2 separate regions of the Homo sapiens genome follow, and region 1 is linked to region 2. The links are contacts of gene promoters, found by promoter capture Hi-C in human tissues and cell types (Jung and others, 2019). All regions are on one chromosome and are shown on one strand. Each heading gives the region's core, a stretch centred on a gene start or on the middle of the fragment in contact. The rest is flanking DNA. Distances are from core to core; before and after follow the strand shown.

Region 1 (2,830 bases), core at 28-2,527, 110 kb after region 2:
TAAATAACTAAAGGAGCATAATTGGATTGTTTGTAACACAAAGGATAAAAGCTTGAGGGGATGGACATCCCATTCCCCGTGATGTGATTATTACACATTGCATGCCCGTGTCAAAACATCTATGTATCCCATATAGACACCTACTATGAACCCAGAAAAATTAAACATTTTAAAACCACTTATTTTGACATGTGTGTGGTTGTTCTCAGTTCTCATGATACCTTTCCTTTTAAAAGCTGACGGTATGTTTTTAACTTTATGAATTTTTTGCCTGGTGCAGGCACCAGGTCTCATCACTTTCCACCCCATCTCTGGAATCTTCTCTCCTCTCTATTCCCTCTATAATTGTCCTAAAATGCAAGCTCCCATCCCTTCTGCCAGCACTGGGGCAGTGACCTCCTAAAGGACCCCCTGCCTGCAATCCCCCGGCTGCCTCCGGAGTCCCTTCTCACGGCTTCATCTCCACCGGCCGCTTCGCACATCCCAACCCCATTTCCTGGTGCATCCATGGTTGGTAAAGCCACCAGTCTGGATGAAAGGTTATGGACACAAGACACAACTTCAAATCTCCTGTCTCTGCTCCTGCCCAGCGCTCTGCCTGGAAAGCCTTGTTCTGCACCAGGCAAAAGCCTGCTCTGGTTCTGAGCCTCACTCCCAGGCCACCTCCTCAGCAGCATTCCCTGGGCCAGTGGGCCACTCTCCTTCCTCCTCTGCAAGCTCAGGACTCTGTCCACCTCATTTCCAGCACATATCTTGGGGGCGTGGTTATTTGTTCACATATCGGTGCAAAGGTGAATCCTGTGTGTCAAGTGGACGCTGGTGTTTTGTGAGAGATACTGAGTGAGATGAGCGTTTGCATTGGGGGACTGAGTAAAGCAGGTGGCCCTCCCCAACATGGATGGCCTCACTCAATCCACTGCAGGCCTGAATCGAACAAAAGGCTGAGGAAGGTGGAATGCAACCTCTGTGCCTGACTGTCTTCAAGCTGGGACGTCAGTGTTCTCCCGCATTCGGACTTGGACTCAGACTAGAATCTATACCATCAGCTCTCCAGGGTCTCTAGCTTGCCAACTGCAGACCATGGGATTTCTCAGCCTCCATAATCACAGGAGCCAATTCCTCATCACAAATCTCATAGATATAGGTATAGATTAGACACAGATATATAGATATACATTAGATATAGATTAGAAATAGATATGTAGATTAGATACAGATAGATATAGATTAGATAATGTAATACAGATGTAGATTAGATATAGATACAGGTATAGATACAGGTTATAGATACAGATTAGATATAGACAGATATAGATATAGATACACATATCTCCTATTGATTCTGTTTCTCAAGAACCCAGACTAACATAGTCAGTCTCCCTTGGGGACTCAAGAAGGGCAGGAACGGGCAAACATGACTCCTTTTCTGGACCCCACACTCCAACCAGCACAGCACTGAGCTATAAAGAACTAAGTCAATAGATAAATGAATGAATAGCATGAATTTGCATGGGAAACATACCAATGAGAGGCACCCAAATGACATGACATTTGCAACTTTTTTATTTTTATTTTTTGAGACAGAGTCTCACTCTGTCACCCAGGCTGGAGTGCAGTGGCGCAATCTCAGCTCACCGCAACCTCCACCTCCTGGGTTCAAGCGATTCTTGTGCCTTAGCCTCCCAAGCAGCTGGGATCACAGGCATGTGCCACCATATCTGGCTAAGTTTTGTATTTCTTAGTAGAAATGGAGTTTTGCCATGTTGGCCAGGCTAGTCTCGAACTCCTGGCCTCAAGTGATCCACCCGCCTTGCCTCCCAAAGTGCTGGGATTACAGGTGTGAGCCACTGTGCCCGGAACTTTTTTTTGTATTTTTTAGTAGAAACGGGGTTTCGCCTTGTTGCCCAGGCTAGTCTCGAACTCCTGGCCTCAAGTAATCTGCCCATCTCAGCCTCCCAAAGTGCTGGGATTACAAGCATGAGCCACCACACCAGGCTGACACGGCAACTTTTAATCTCCGCTTGCAACTAAACAGTTTACCCCATGCCTTAACCAAGCCCTTGACCTCCAAAGAGAGTTCTTTTCTATGATGACAGTAAAATACATAAAAAAAAAATTGTCATTTTAATCATTTTAAAATATGTAATTCCAGGCTGGGTGCAATGGCTCATGCCTGTAATCCCAGCACTTTGGGAGGTCAAGGCAGGAGGATCGCTTGAGATCAGGAGTTCCAGACCAGCCTGGGTAACACAGTGAGACATTGCCTCTACTAAAACTAAAAAAAGAATAGCTGGGCATGGTGGTGCACCTCTGTAGTCCCAACTGCTTTGCAGGCTGAGGCAGAAGGATCACTTCGACCCAGGACTTCGAGGCTGCAGTGAGTTATTATCACACCACTGCACCCCAGCTTGGGTGTTAGAGCGAGACTTTGTCTCAAAAATAAAAATAAAATGTACAATTCCGTGGCATCAAGTACTTTCACAATGTCACACAGCCAGCGCCACTATCTATTTCCAGAACTTTTTTTTTTTTTGAGATGGAGTTTCGCTCTTGTCGCCCAGGCTGGAGTGCAATGGCGCAATCTGGACTCACTGCAACCTCCACCTCCCAGGTTCAAGTGATTCTCCTGCCTCAGCCTCCTGAGTAGCTGGGATTACAGGCACCTGCCACTATACCTGGCTGACTTTTGGATTTTTAGTAGAGACAGGGTTTCACCACGTTGGCCAGACTGACCTCGAACTCCTGACCGCAGGTGATGCACCCGCCTTGGCCTCCCAAAGTGCTGGGATTACAGGCGTGAGCCACCGCACCCAGCCTATTTCCAGAACTT
Region 2 (2,757 bases), core at 179-2,678:
TGCCTTCCTTCTGTTTTGTGTCTTTTATTAAACAAACACCTGAAGGAGGGCTAGGAGACTGCAGGAGGGAGAGCAATCACAGGTCCCAGAAGCGACTCCGGCCTCCTCCCGGCCCAGAGCTAGTCCTTAGAATGTGCTGCGCTCCTGAGCTTCTGTGGGAAGCTGCTTTTGCCTCTGATGGCCCCTGCCCACTGTGCTGCCCGTGCTAGCCCCTCTCCTCCCTCATGGAGTGAAGCCACCCCTCACCTCCAGGTGGCCAGCCAGGGCTCCAGGCCAGCCTCATGGTGCACAGAGGGAAGGGGTGCCCAGTGACCACTGGTCCTGGAGGTTCTGTGTCCTTACCTGACCCCACACAGACCCAGGCAGGCTGGGGGTAGAAGCTCATGCAGGAACTAAACACTAAGCTCAACAACTTCACAGTCGCCGTAGCAGGTCAGAGCCAAAGAAGCTAGGGCCAGAGAGTTCTGGAAGGGGGAGAAGTGGCTCCAGGTGACTGGTCACTTCTGCTCTGTGCCCGACATCATCAGCCCTTCTTGCCAAAAAGGAGCATCTGCTGAAACAGACCTGGATCATCGAAAACACACCTTTGGAAATTACATTAGGATTCTCACTTGTGCCAATGCTATGTATGCCAGGCACTTTTGCCTAATCAAGTGTTTTCTCTGAGAAGGAAAAGAAAACTCCACACATCTTAAAATACTCTCCAATATTTACTTTTTGATTATATAAATTCCTTTTAAAAAGTAGTATTAAAAACAAAACCATTCAGGTTAATTTGTATGGAAAGAGATTTAAGTGGCTGATTTCAAATGAAAAATCAGTGTCAGTCCCCCTCCTGCCTCTTGAGAGGCCCCAAGAAATGACAGCAGACCCGATCACTCTGACAACCCCAGGCTCCGAATTCATTAAGCAGTTTTCTTCACCCAAAGGTTAATCAGAATTCAGGGTGAGGCATACTCCTTGCAGCACCCAGTGAGAAATGTGCCTCGTGGTAAAGAGATCAGCTTCAAAAACCAAGCCGACTCCCATGGCGTTCCTTCTCATGGAGGTGGTGTAGACGGGGGTCCGGAAAGTATTCTGCAAGGGAAAGGCAGGTGAGATGCCCCCACGGAGAGAGGGTGCAGAGGGATAAAGGCAGAGGTGCAGTGTAAGTCTTGACAGGCAGGGGCCCCTGTGCAAGACTGCACCTGAGAACACGCACAAGGCTGGGGCTGCTCAGGGCCACCCTCCGCCAGCTTCACGGGGACCTGGCTTCACACTGACACCCTGGTTAAAAGTGGGTCCTGGCCCAGGCAGAGCAGAAGACATCTGCTGTCCACACCAGCGGGAACCACTTTATGACTCAGGCAATGTCTGCAGCATTTTGCAAGAAGGGAGGGAGTCTCCCCTTGGTTAGTCTAGACCACAGGATCACAGCTTGAGCCTGACACCTCTGGAAGGACCGGCATCCACACACACATACAGCCGCGCCTTTTCCAGGAAGCAGCTATCCGTAGCTTTTATCACGGCTCCAAGACTCTCCCCAGCCCATAAAGCTTAGGCACCCCTGTTTTAAAAAGTAGGACTGTTGGAAACCACCTCAGCCATAACTACAGTCAGAAGAGGAAGGGCCCTGGTGTCAGAGAGGAGGGGCTGGGACCTTCACCTGCAGCTTGAGGCGATGGGCTTCAATGGGGATGATCTTCAGGATCGGCAGGTCCACAACCAGCACCTTGGGTTTGCTCTTGATAAGACATCCTTTTTCTATATCCCAGTCAGCACCTTCCAGGTACAGTCCTGAGACAAAGCATCCTAGGGACACAAGGCAGAGACTGGATACAACTGGAGCATGCACAGCCTGCCACGGAGTGGCTCTATCAGGCGCACACACAGCGACACACAGGCCACTGGCTGGCCTCCTCCCCAGCGCATTGGGGACAGCCCAGGCCCTTCTCCAGCATTTCTGTCCTGCCCACCTTCCCTCTGTGGAGGAGCAGCCCAGACAGGAGACCCTGTGGCCCTGCCCCATGGCCCAGAGAAATGGGTGTGGGGCGGTGGCCTCTCCCCCAGGAATCCTCATTCCTGGGGCATCAAGGCCCACGGACTTAGACCACCCTGGGCCCCCAGGCTAGAAAGATGCATGGTCCCAGAGTCAGAATGGGCACCATGGCAACCCCAGCTACCCTGTGAGCCGAAGTGGCTGGGGAGCAGGAAGTCGAAGCCTCACAGAGAAAGTGGTCTCCGGGGAGGAGGACCCAGCAGATGTGCAAAGAGAGGAACACACTCCTGTGGCCCCAGAGAGAGTGGTGGCCCGGACACCTGCCACCTCCCCTGCCACTGAGACCTGGAGAGTCCCTGCATCTTTACCGTAAGTCCCCAGTCCTTAAGCCATCTCAAAAGAGCTTTTGTTCCTTGCAGTTAAAAGAACTCTAAGACAACATGGACCCGGGGAAACAGCAGTTTCCAGCTCTCATTTGCACAGTCAGTAACCAATGTCTAAGGGACCTGAAGTTCTGGCATAATCAAAGAGTTCCAACCAAGTTAGTCCATGCTGCTCTGTGGCTCCCATGCCCCTGGCCCCGTCAGGGGTTACAAGAAAGCCACCTGATGGTTTTTGCAAGAGCTAATTCTGACCTAGGAGCCCACTTGCCATGAGCTAGCAGAGTGAACATGGTTCAGGTCTCCCCTGCCATAGACCCCAGGTCTCAACGGAGAAAGTGGAAGAGAAACTTCCGTATCCACCCTCAGAGGTGTTAAGACATGGGCAGTGCAGAGACA

The links. Contacts are between HindIII fragments. The study calls those that stand out against the background at their distance.
Region 1: a contact is called between a fragment that was not itself captured here and the fragment with the promoter of DNAH10OS in region 2, in 2 of the 25 tissues and cell types used here (lymphoblastoid cells and mesenchymal stem cells).

Annotation. Positions count from the first base shown.
Region 1 is chr12:123,820,954-123,823,783 of GRCh38, reverse strand. The region is part of intron 24 of DNAH10 (dynein axonemal heavy chain 10); the gene reads right to left. Among named protein-coding and RNA genes, the nearest start is that of DNAH10, 60 kb to the right of the region's middle. The HindIII fragment of the contact is 5,209 bases long and covers 1-2,830 here.
Region 2 is chr12:123,933,655-123,936,411 of GRCh38, reverse strand. DNAH10OS (dynein axonemal heavy chain 10 opposite strand) reads left to right here and starts at 1,428. Exons shown (of 2, transcript NR_187476.1): 1 at 1,428-2,347. DNAH10 (dynein axonemal heavy chain 10) reads right to left here. Exons shown (of 79, transcript NM_001372106.1): 78 at 1,646-1,791; 79 at 698-1,077. The coding sequence ends at 931. It overlaps CCDC92 (coiled-coil domain containing 92), which reads left to right. Exons shown (of 5, transcript NM_025140.3): 5 at 1-786. The HindIII fragment of the contact is 2,982 bases long and covers 1-2,472 here.